Regions from separate parts of the Homo sapiens genome. Here regions 2, 3 and 4 are each linked to region 1. The links are contacts of gene promoters, found by promoter capture Hi-C in blood cells and fetal thymus (Javierre and others, 2016). All regions are on one chromosome and are shown on one strand. The core of a region is centred on a gene start or on the middle of the fragment in contact, and the rest is flanking DNA. Distances in the headings are between cores, read along the strand shown.

The links. The method cuts DNA at HindIII sites, captures the fragments that hold promoters and counts their contacts. A CHiCAGO score of 5 or more calls a contact.
Region 2: the fragment with the promoter of RIC3 here is called in contact with the fragment with the promoter of STK33 in region 1 in 8 of 17 cell types (naive B cells, total B cells, endothelial precursors and 5 more); the score reaches 8.8 in naive B cells.
Region 3: a fragment that was not itself captured here is called in contact with the fragment with the promoter of STK33 in region 1 in 5 of 17 cell types (total B cells, M0 macrophages, M1 macrophages and 2 more); the score reaches 9.3 in total B cells.
Region 4: a contact is called between a fragment that was not itself captured here and the fragment with the promoter of STK33 in region 1, in 1 of 17 cell types (M0 macrophages). The highest score is 5.8, in M0 macrophages.

Annotation. Positions count from the first base shown.
Region 1 is chr11:8,592,702-8,595,598 of GRCh38, reverse strand. STK33 (serine/threonine kinase 33) reads left to right here and starts at 1,371. Exons shown (of 16, transcript NM_001352389.2): 1 at 1,371-1,516. RefSeq lists a silencer at 1,549-1,808. The HindIII fragment of the contact is 2,062 bases long and covers 1,192-2,897 here.
Region 2 is chr11:8,167,485-8,170,381 of GRCh38, reverse strand. It overlaps RIC3 (RIC3 acetylcholine receptor chaperone), which reads left to right and starts at 1,357. Exons shown (of 6, transcript NM_001206671.4): 1 at 1,357-1,516. The coding sequence starts at 1,393. RIC3-DT (RIC3 divergent transcript) reads right to left here and starts at 1,312. Exons shown (of 5, transcript NR_187234.1): 1 at 1,193-1,312; 2 at 394-497. The HindIII fragment of the contact is 1,725 bases long and covers 753-2,477 here.
Region 3 is chr11:8,193,885-8,196,781 of GRCh38, reverse strand. No RefSeq gene overlaps it. Among named protein-coding and RNA genes, the nearest start is that of RIC3-DT, 26 kb to the right of the region's middle. The HindIII fragment of the contact is 1,022 bases long and covers 943-1,964 here.
Region 4 is chr11:8,264,480-8,267,376 of GRCh38, reverse strand. It overlaps a transcript of LMO1 not described here. Among named protein-coding and RNA genes, the nearest start is that of LMO1, 2.0 kb to the right of the region's middle. The HindIII fragment of the contact is 3,262 bases long and covers 1-2,897 here.

The DNA.
Region 1 (2,897 bases), core at 122-2,621:
TGAAAAGCTCTGCGCTGGACAAGCTGGTAGGATTCTGCTACAAAGATGTAATAAACAACATTCTTAAAGTAATCCCTCTAGTAAATGCAGAGGTATCATGAATTTTTTTAAACAGCATCTCTTAATATAAGCAAATGGCATAGTGCTAAACATGACTTGGTTCATGCAATGTTGCCAACGGTGAAGACAAAATGGTACAAACATACAGTTTTTTGGTGGTCTGGTTTAATCCAGGGCAAAACGCAGTCCAGTGGTTGCTTTTGTTTTTAGAGGCAGGGCTGGCTATGTCGCCCAGGCTGGAACCTGTGAATATGTTACCTTATATGCAAAGGGCACTTTACAGATGTGATTAAGGACCTTAAGATGCGGGAGATTATCCTAGGAGATCTTTTTTAATCTCCTAGAGCCTGGTACCTAGTAGGACGTCATTATATGGTAGGTTTCTTGCAGCCCTTTGGTGGCCAGGTAGTTTTTAATTTTGTAGAGATGGGGGCCTCCCAGTGTTACCCAGGCTGGTCTTGAACTTCTGGGTTCTAGCAATCCTCCTGCCTTGGCCTCCCAAAGTGCTGAGATTATCGGTGTGAGCCACTGCGCCCGGCCTAGTCCAGTGGTTTGAAGTTTGAAGTTACCAGTCACCCATTATGACCATTTTGAGTTTTTTGATGAAAAGGACTGGATGAACTAGTTGCCAAATGTAGCCTCCCCCGAAGCAATACAATGAATCCACCTGCCGTATCAAGTTACTGGCTATCAATCAGCTAATTTTAGAGAACATCTGCCTCAAATAATTAGGCTAGTATTAGGAGAGTTGAATTTCTTCCCCACACTGCTAGAGAGTAGGACCCAGGACCACAGAAGCCATTCTTAGTTCAGGCCAGTAAATACATTAGCATACAGCTGGACCCTCTGTTGCATGGGGCAGGCATTCAGATGGTTCTCATAGGTTTGTAGCTAAAACATATCCCTGAGAATCGTCATTTGATCTGTCAGGAGTCTTCTCAGCCCCTGCGTGGGGACAAACACCCTCCCCCCAGCATTTTCCCGTCTTTTTAGGCCAGCTCCCCACTCACTGCAGTTCAAGGCTTGCAGCCCTTGCTCCAACTGGCTGGGGCTTGATGGGCTTGACTCCGAGTGAGAAGAGTGGCCTGAGCATCAATCACCTCAGTACTGTGATATTCCTGCTACAAAGCTTTATTTTACGTAACACGTGGCTGCTCCTCTGTGCCCCAGACGGGGTTTTAGGTCCTTCTCTAAGGCGAGCTGCCCTTGGGCGCGCCTGGGGCTGCACCTGGGTCACGTGGGCGCCGTTGTGCAGCCGGCACCTCCCGGCCAACCCCGCGGCTTGGAGAAGGGGCTTTGCACCCGCCGCCGCTGTTTGTCCTCGCGCGGCCCCCGTCCACTGCCCTGCGGTTGCTCTGCGGGCTGAAAAGTTTCTCCCGGTGCAGAATTCCGGGCTCAGCGACAGCCTGCGCCGAGTGTGCGCACCTGTCGGAGACCCGCCAGTCCGCCGGCCGCGGTGAGTGGTCCCTGGAGTCACTGGCTCAGGGCGGGCCCGCGGGATGGGGCGGGCGGCCCGGGGCGCAGCCGGCCAGGCCGTTGCTATGGCAACGCGGTGGAAAAACGGGCCTCTGGGTATCTCGCTGCCGGCCGGCTGGTAACCCCCCAGCGGAGGGACCGGGCCGAGCCCGCGGACCCCTCCGAGTGTCTCCTGGGGCCCAGCCGTTGGTACCCCATTTCCCCCGGGTCCGGTATTTGGGGTGGTCTCTGTCTGCCCCGGTTCATCTCCACCGTCTCACCTTCACCCCATCTTGGGACGTGAAACTTTTTGAAAGTTTAGAAGCGAACTTACTGTGGGGTAAGTGTGTGGGAAACATCCTTAGAAGTTCTGAAGTTGTGTTTCTTTTTTTTAAACTGCTAGAGCCTGGTACCTAGTGGGACCCCATTATATGGTAGGTTTCCTGTTGCCCTTAAGATAGTCTCTTGCACCTAGAGGCTGCACATAGGAGGTGAAAGGATGACATAAAGCAGCCCCGTACTGGCTCTGTGGACAGGTAATTTAAGAACTCTCCCTCAGCTTCCTAAATGTAGATTATAATTTCTCACAAGGTCGTGGGTTTCAGTGAACCTATATGTGAAGCTGTTTTGTGAACAGTACATGTGAAAAGCACTTGAGCGTTAGTAAGGGATATTTGCATGCTAAGAGTGGTCTGGTGCTCCCCGTCCCATATCACCAGCTAAGAAGGACCTTCTTTTTTGCCTGACCACCAAATGACTCCAATATCCAACCAGAAAATAGGATAGTCCTGCCTTGAAAGAGGGCTCTGTGAATGGAAAGGAACATCAACAAGTTTTGAACCCAAACTCTTTCCTTGTTCTCCAGGCCCGTGCCTTTAGACAGTGATGGATATGCAGATATATCGCGCATTTAAATTTTTAGCTCGTGTAAATCTCTGTTGCTATCTCAATGGGTCATACCAACCTCTAGTTTGCAAATCAGAAATCTTGGCCTCATCCTTGACACCTCGCACTTTCTTCCTTTCCATATCCAAACAATCATCAAGTTCTATTCATTTTATCTTCAAACCAAATCTCAAATCCATTTGAGTATCTCTGTCTCTGCTACTATTACCCTAGACCAATCTACCATGATCTGTTGTCCAGTAGTAGCCTCTTAACTAATCTAAAGGTATTTATCCTTTCCTTTCAATATTCCCATCCATTCTTTGCCCTGCAGCAGGAGTAGTATTTTCACAACTAAAATTTGATTATGCTACCCCCCAACCTCCTCTAGCTCAAAATCCATCATGGCTTCTCATTATTCTTAGAATAAAGACAAAACTCTTAATGTGGCCAAAAAGTTGGGTGACCATGTACATGACCATCCAGACCAAGATATT
Region 2 (2,897 bases), core at 108-2,607, 430 kb after region 1:
GTGCGTCTTACAAAATTGACATTTCTCATCTGCTGTCATGTTTTCTATCATTGCATTTAGTCTTGTAGTTTATATACTTTATTTCTTTATTTTCCTTTTTGGGCACTGTCCCAGGAAAGCAAAGATAAATGCATATGTTACATCTGTCATGTTTAACTGGAAGTTCTACCTAAGCTTTTCACAATGTAGCTCCTGCTTATATTTGTGCACTTCGTGTCCTGTCACTACTCTATGGCCCTGCCAAAATGAATTACCAATAGCTTTCTGAACACACCAGGAAGCTTCCAGATTTGCCTTTATTTTTTTGGCCTCCTTTTTCCGGAATACCTTTCTAACCCCTCCCACCTGTCTGCCTATAAGTTACTCATTTTTCAACAGCTAACTCAATTTCACCTTCTCAAAGGGGCTTTTCTTGACTTTTCCTCGTACCAGTTGAGAAGACTGCTCGGGGATCCAGAATATTTCCTGCATTTTTTTTGTTTGGATAATTATCTGTCCTACAAAGGGAATCCATTTTATTCATCAGACCCTGTAGTGCCAAGTTGAGGGTCTAATACATAGTAAAAACTAAAATAATGTTAAATGAACGAATGAAGAGAGTAACAAAGAACGGTGGGATTGTAGAGAAAGGAGAGGCTGACTGAAAACGTTTCGAGAGAGCAGTGTTTTTAAGCTGTTCTTCAGAGAAGTTTTTGACAACTGGAGATGGTGTCAGGAATTTTCCAGGCAGTGGGAACAGGACAAGCAAAGCTTCCCTGAAGACAAGCAATATGCTAAAGAAATAGCAAATCATCCAGTTTGGAAGGAGCATTGGTAAGACCAGATCATGCAGGGCGTTGAGGTTATAGAAAGGAGTTTAACTATTGTTCTGAAGATAATGGAGAGTTAAAAGGTTTAAGCTGGAGAGAAAGAGAATTAGTCTTGTGTTTTAGCATTATCACCTGTGGCTGCAGACGGATAATGAATGCGAGGGGCATGAGTGGAAGCTGGAAGACAGCGAGATCATGGAGATGAGGAGAAACTGGATGTTGTGATCTACGGGTGGGTGGGGGGCAGTGGTGGTAAGTGGGGATAGAGATCCGGGCACGACCGCCGGATGTGTAGGCGGTAGAATGCACAGGACTCAGTAAAAGATGAACATGGGGAGTGAGGGAGGAGTTTTTAGTTAGTATGAACGGGAAGGCGAGGGTACCATTTACAGCGACGGGTAACCACGCGGGAGGAGCAGGTCAACTCCCGACAGTGGAGGTGAAGATGCGTGCGCCTCGCGCACCTTGTCCCTCGCGCGACGCCGTCCGCGCCGCCCGCGGTTCGGTCGGGAGCGGCAGCCCGTGCTCCGGTTCCGGTTCCGGTTCCGGCTGGCGTCTGCACCTGCGACCACCGTGAGCAGTCATGGCGTACTCCACAGTGCAGAGAGTCGCTCTGGCTTCTGGGCTTGTCCTGGCTCTGTCGCTGCTGCTGCCCAAGGCCTTCCTGTCCCGCGGGAAGCGGCAGGAGCCGCCGCCGACACCTGAAGGTAAGAGCAGGCCAGCTCCCTCTGAGCTTCCCGGCGCCGAAGAGTACGGAGAACGCTGCTTGAGGGAGGGGTGACTCTGAGAGTCTGCAGCCTTCACCGAAATATCCACCAAACTGACTGGAGAGGGCGGGCGAGACGGCGTTGAAGGGCCAATGCCCACGGTTCCGTTGTTATCAGCGGGTGGCGGCCCAGATGGTTCTGCTGCTGGAAGGGTCAGGAACGTATGCATGCAGGTCTGTGCATCCTCTAGGTGGCCTTGCGTACTCCCGTTTAGGCGCAGTCCCTTCTCTCTTACCCCGCTGGCTTAACTCATCTCGTCACCATTTGTTCACGTGCTTTGAGTCAAGGGTTCCCAGTTGGGTTTCCCTCTTTAGGTTTTCCGTGTACTTTCTGACGCGCCGCTTGGTACGAAATCAAGGCAAATGGAATTGGTACAGCAAACCTTAAGTCGTTATGTTTTTTCAACTTGGTGCTGGGCGCTCACTGCTTCAGGCTCTTCTTGTGCCTTTAAAAATATATCTTGAAGATTTTAATAACCCCAGTTTCAGTTACTGAGGTGGTTATGAACAAATTATTACGTTCCCCTTATTGAAACAGTATTTATCTGTTAATTCTTCGTTGTTGGCATGATGTATGTGGTGTTTAAAAATTCATCCTCTTAGCTGCACTGGGGCCTTTTACAGAATGAGTGTAAAGGCACGGTGCTGAAGGCTGGGAGAAGGAACCAGAACAGTTTTCTATAGGTCATGAAGTTCTACTGGTAACTTTCTCCTGTAAATTATCCTTGTAATATCTTTGAGACATGATTTTACGGTGTCTGAACACTTCCAGTAATGTTTAAACTGTTGATTGCTGGACAGCTCCTTTTGAACTGTAATCCACTTCCGTCTGCTTTATGCACATTGACTGTAGTTCCATTCTCTTGAGCATCATACACACTATAAATGCAAAGCACCAAGCTTTAGGGGTGGAGGGCAGGTTGAACACATAATTCTGTTTACAGAATTTGCCTGATAATCTTTATGCTTGTAAGACTATCCACTTGGGACGGACTTCTAAAACATCTTTGCGTATTTGTTCTTTTTTTTTCCTTTCTGTCTTATTGCAATAATCCCAAAGATTTTTACCTGCTTTGTCTAATGATATTGTCTACTTTGAAGAAGAGTCAATTCATGATGATCCTGAACAGTGAAGATTCTTCGAAAACTTTTTTTTTTTTTTTTTTACTTTCCATTATGGTGAATTATCTTGAACAAGTACTATTGACTGTGAGTGGGAGACACTCTTCTGAACGTTGTAGAAAATGTAGAGTGGAGATTAGACATGGGTTGTTCCCTTGAGAACTCAAGTGTTGGTATTCAGTGTTCTCATGTTAGGATCT
Region 3 (2,897 bases), core at 204-2,703, 400 kb after region 1:
AAGGAAGTGTGAGTATCTCAAAAATAGGAGACTTTGGTCATAAGAAATACTAGAGAAGAAGGCTTCACAGGCAAAGCAGTTTGGGTAAGAACAAGGTCAACTTTGTGCCTATAGGCAAGGGGAGCTGAGAGATCTATGGGGATATCTCTGGCCCACCCAAAACCTGGACTTCCCAGTTTCTCAACCTCATTCCTTCATCTGCATATCCCTCCTATCCCTATCCCTACACCCATGATGGCTAAGAAAGTGTTCTCAGGGGCGTAAGTTTCAGGAAGGCATTGGCAACTATGATAATTTCAAGTTATATAAATTGTAAGAGCAAAGATAGGGGCTCTTAGTGAAAAAGAAGCTCCATGTTTTCTTTCTCCCAACCCACACCTAGTTGAATCCACATCTAAGACTATTAGATATGTATACAAGGCTTAGGAGTACCCCCATGAACTTCTGTTCTCATGAGCTCCCTTGGGCTATGCTTAGGTCCACTCTCTGGTCACCTCTTCCCCGGCAGATGGAGCATCATGGCAGAGTTGGTGGTGTGTGATAGACTGCAAAAATGGCTGTAAGTTATTCTTCTACTTTCCGTTCTGTAATGTGACTTGAAACATATCCCATCAAGAGTCTTTTTTCCTATCCCTTGAATCTGGGGTGGTTTTTGTGAATGGCTGAAAGAATATGGCAGAAGAGACACTTCAAATTCTAAACCTACACCAAAAGAGGCTTTACCTGCTTCCATTTGCTTTCCTTGAACCTTGAGCTGTCCTGTGACCAAGTCCAGGCTAGCTTGCTAATTGATGACAGACATGTAGCCCTGTTACCCCTGTACCCCCAAGTGACGTCCAGTCAACTTCCAGAAGCAGAGCTGTCAGCTGTGTGAGCGATGCCACCCTAGATCATCCAGCCCCTAGCTGAGCCTCCAGCTGAAGGCACACACGTAAAGAAGCTTAGCCTGGAGCAACGAAACCAGACTCAAATTAGCAGAACCACCCAGCCAGCCCCTGGACTCATAAGCAATAATAGATGGTTATTACTTTAAGCCACTAATTTAAGGGAGGGTTGGTTTGTTATGCAGCAAAAGCTACCAGACACAGGGTGAAATGGAGAAGAGATAAGAAATGCATTGTCCTATGTAACAAAAAGATTATATGCTAATCATAGTATCTGACACATCACAGGGCCACTTCTCTTCTGACAAAGGCACCCCTTTCTCCTTTCTTCTGGGTTGATGCAGCCCCACATAAAGATGCATGACTTGCCACGTGGTGCAGATAGGATACAGCTCCTACTTTCCCCCTCAGTCAGTTACCCTTGTGCATGGCACAACTTGCTCAACTGCAAGCAGCCTCCTTGCATGCCATCAAAGCGTCTTCTTTTGCCCTCTCTAGGCAGCAATACTGTACTATGCTATACCCCAACACAGCTCACTGGACAAGAACTTGGTACCTGACCAGGTGATGGCAAATCATATTCTTGCTTTTGGAAATCTGGATTATAAAATTGGAGAAAGTCAGTTAGTAGTAGGAGTAGAAGGTAAACAAAGATGCATCTAGAAAGGTCTTACAGTAGAGTATGGGGGCGTGAGTGCTGAAGGGCTGTGGAAGGTTATGGCAAGCTGAAATTGAGAAATCGTAAGTAAAAAGGAACTGGAAACACAGAGAGAATACAGAGGGTTGTGAGAAGAACGGTGATATCTGGCAGAGGAGCAGATACACTGGGCATGGCTTAGTTGGGTTAATGACACAGCACCACGGTGAGGAGTATGAGGACCTGTCCTGTCACTGAAGTCCTCCAGCCACCAGGGATCTGGAACTAGCTTCCACCTAGACTCTTGAGACCCTGCACTTTTAGGGTCCCGTCTGGGTTTCTGAAAGACTCAGATTCTTGGCTTATTTGTCTCCCTTACTTGGGTTGACCCCAGTGATGCTCTGTTCCTTGTATACTAATGACCCCCAAGTTAACCAGAAGCTTATCTCCCAAGACCCATGACCTCACAGATCCAAAGGCAGGCAAATCCCATCACTACCCATCTATGAACTTTCTTCTCAACAGTCCCCACCTGTGCCCCAGGTCTTGGTAAGACAAACCTAGGGGAAATGACTGCCAGGGTCAGCAGGGTGTGGGGCTGCAGAGCAAAGGAAAATGTGCCATCAGGAAGCAGCTATGGCACAAACACCCAGACCTACTGTCACTGCTGATCCAGCCCACAATGCCTCTCTCTCTGGACAAGATTCTTCCAACACCCAGTGTATACTCATATCTGGGGAGTCACCACCACCCATGAAGTCCTCTCTCCCACCTCAGGAAGGAATCTCTCTGCTCTCAGGCCTTGCTAACCCTCTCCCTTTAGGACCCAGTCATCCCAGAGCTGGAAGACCCTATAGAGATTACCCTGTCTCATTTGTAAATGAGGACCCAAAGTCACAGAGGCTGACCAAAGCAGAAAGCAGAAAGTGTAAGAATTGGAACCCTTAATTCCTGTCTCCTTCCTATTTGAAAAGGGCCCCAGCCAGCAGAGAGGGTCTATTAGGAAAACTGCGGTCAGTGAAAAATAGTGTGCATTCATTCATTCTGTTTTGATCAGTGATCGTGTGCCAAACCCTGTACTTAACAAGCTGAACTCACTGTGATTCCCTTAAATAATATAATCTTCAACATTCTCTTTGGACCAACCCAACCCAAGCCCAGAGCCTGGAGCCCAGAGCTCAGCTCAGAGCCAATGACAGAGCCCAAACCCAGATACCACAGGATACCAGTGACCCCAGAGGCCCCCAGAAAATTATCAATATGGGACACCCACCACGATCAGCCTTCTGTTTCCCATCTTGGCAGTGCAGGTGGAAAGCGTTCTTTTTCCTCAGCTGTAGTCCCAGAGATTTGGCCTCAGCTGGCCTGAGACCTGC
Region 4 (2,897 bases), core at 145-2,644, 330 kb after region 1:
GCTAGTCCCTTGACCCATCCTACCACCACTCACTATAGTGATCAATTGTCCTTGTTTGCTCAGGACGATCTCAATTTTAGTACTGAACATCCTGTATCCTAGGAAACCCTTGAGTCACAAGGCAAACTTGGACAGTTGGTCAGTGCACACCCAAAACCTTCTCAGGGCTGTGGTGCAGGGGTAGGGGAGATTTCTTTGCTATGGTGCAGATTTGGCTTAGGCCTCCACAAGGCCTAACAATCTATAACTGCTGCTTGCAAGAAGGCCTGTCCAGGCTCTCCAGAAACCAAAAGAGGAAAAGTTTGCCGACTGTGCACTTCTTCACTCCAGCGGGTTGCAAATTCCTGTGCATTGGCTGCTTTTGTGTAAGCAGGGGGAAGGGAAGGGCATCTGAACATGGCCAGCAGGCATCCTGATTGCACTGCGAAGTCTGTAGGTTTACTCTGTCCTGTCAACTGTGGTGGCCACAGAGAAGGGGTCCTCGTCACCCCAATACCTCTCTGAGCATCACCTGTGTGGCTAGCTTGTAACTCCGTCTTGGAGGCAGCTGCATTGTGTTGGGAGCAGGCCCTCTGGCTGAGGCACATCTGACAGTCTCCACCAAAGACTTCTGTAATATCTAGTCGGCCTGGGCCCTCAGGCCCTGGGTCCCACTATCTCCCACCCCCACTCCTAATGCAGGAACTCTTCCTCGGGACTTTCCTGCCAGGTGGAGGGGCAAATTGCTGGGACCTGCCCAGATATTTGTAAGACAGCCAGTAGCACCCACTTTCTCCTTAAACTAACCTTGGGGATTGATAGTTGTCCTCTCCCTGCCATTCCCAGAGGCATTTCGAGGGCATTTTGGAGCACTCTTGGCTTGTCGAAGTGAGAGTACATGCTCATCACCTGTGGAATGTGTTGGGGGAAAACTACCTCCCCCAGCCCCAGGGGATCTGAGGATTCCACTCTGGTGCTGTGGGCGTGTCCCTGGACCTAGAAGCAGCTTGGGTGGGGTGAGCATGGGGGTGGGGCGAGTATGGGGGTGGGAGTTACTTGCTTGCCCAGTGAGTGGAGAGAGGCCATCAGATGGGGTGAGTGATGTTTCTATCTGCCTCTGTCAACCCAGCAAGCCCCTTCCTGGCTGGAAGCTCAAGCCACCCAAACCCTCCAAGACTTGCTGTGAAGGTTCCTCTCCAGATCAGTTTGGGAGCACCATGCTCACAGCTGGGGGTGCAGAAAGAGCCACCTGTGGGCACACACAGCACCAGTCCCCTGCTGGCATGCCCTACCTGCTTCTGCAGCCCATTGCTCAGCACCCCAGGCCTGCTCCAGTCCCTGGGTTTGGGGCACAGGGCCCTGACTCCCCAAAGGGATGCCAGTCATGTGGCTGCCAATTAGGTACCTTGGAGGCTGAGGTGAGCTGGTATTCAGACAAACTCGTGGACAAGAGAGTGGAAGAGTGGCCACAGCTAGCCCAGTCCTGGTTTGTGGGTCAGGGCCAGCCCCTGAAAGTGAGGAGAATCTGCCCCTGGAGGTCAGTAGTAAGGCTGCATGCAGCCCCGATGGAGTGAACGCCTCCAGTAGCACAGAGGTTTCTACGGCAAGAAGTTGCCCCTTGCCAGCCTGTCAGGCCCTGTGCTTGCTACACTGTCTAGCCCCCAGCTCTGGTGGGTGTGAGGGGCTGGCACCAAATATGCCGGTGGCAGCGGTGCCAAAGCCTCCCTCAGACCCTGAGGGCATGGGTCTGGCGGCAGTGGCAGGGGAGAGATCAAGCTCGCAGTCCTGAGGCTGGTGAGTCTGAGCAAAATGATATATTTAACATCAAATATACTCAAGGACTATTAGGATTAAGTATTCAAGATGAAGGGGAAAGTGAAACCCTCTGAGCTGCAGATGAGGCATCTCATTAGAAGCAGCGCTTTTCTGTTTTCTCAAAGCCTGACTTCCCTGCCTAGCAGAGAGGAATATGGCTGCAGCCCGCTGCTCCCCATCCCTGTCAAGCACTGGGGCCTCCCAGGGCTTAAAGGGTAAGACCTAGCCTCCAGGTCTCCTTCAAACCAGATAATCTCCCCCCATCCCCCTGCATTGTCTGGAGTGCCACAGTTTACAAAGCACATTAACATGCATTAGCTCATCTGACCCCCACAGCAACCATAGATACAGGAAGAGTAGGTCTCCCACCTCACAGCCAAGGAAACTGAGGCCCAGATAGAGAAAGAGACTTGCTAAGGTCCACTGTTGGTAATTGGCAGAGATGAGATAGAATCCCAACTGGTGGCCCTTCAGCCCGTTTCTCTTTCCCTGGGTCTAGTCCTCAGAAGTGATTGCCAGGACCAAGCCTCCAACACATCTGTCTGGAGCCCTCCTTGGGCTGAAGAAAAATCATTATTTCTATCCCACCTTGGAACTCTGTACTGTCTAGGCAAAGAAAAAAGACTTGGGATTTAAAAGTAGGTGGCCTTCCGGCCAGGCGCAGCAGCTCACGCCTGTAATCCCATCACTGTGGGAGGCTGAGGTGGGTGGATCACGAGGTCAGGAGTTCGAGACCAGCCTGGCCAATATGGTAAAACCCCGTCTCTACTAAAAAATACAAAAATTAGCTGGGCGTGGTGGTGTGTGCCTGTAATCCCAGCTACTCGGAAGGCTGAGGCAGAAGATTCGCTGGAACCTGGGAGCCGGAGCTTGCAGTGAGCCGAGATCACACCACTGCACTCCAGCCTGGGCAACAGAGCAAGACTCCATCTTAAAAAAGAAAAAACAGAAAGAAAGAAAAAGGAATGAAAAGAAAAAAAGTAGGTGGGTAGGTGGCCTTCCTAGGGTAGGCAGCCAGAACATCAGCCCCAGGATTCTGGGGAGAAGCAGGGTCCAGGAGAAGAGATGGGCACTGTCTCTTTTCCTGCCTTATGAGTTACAGA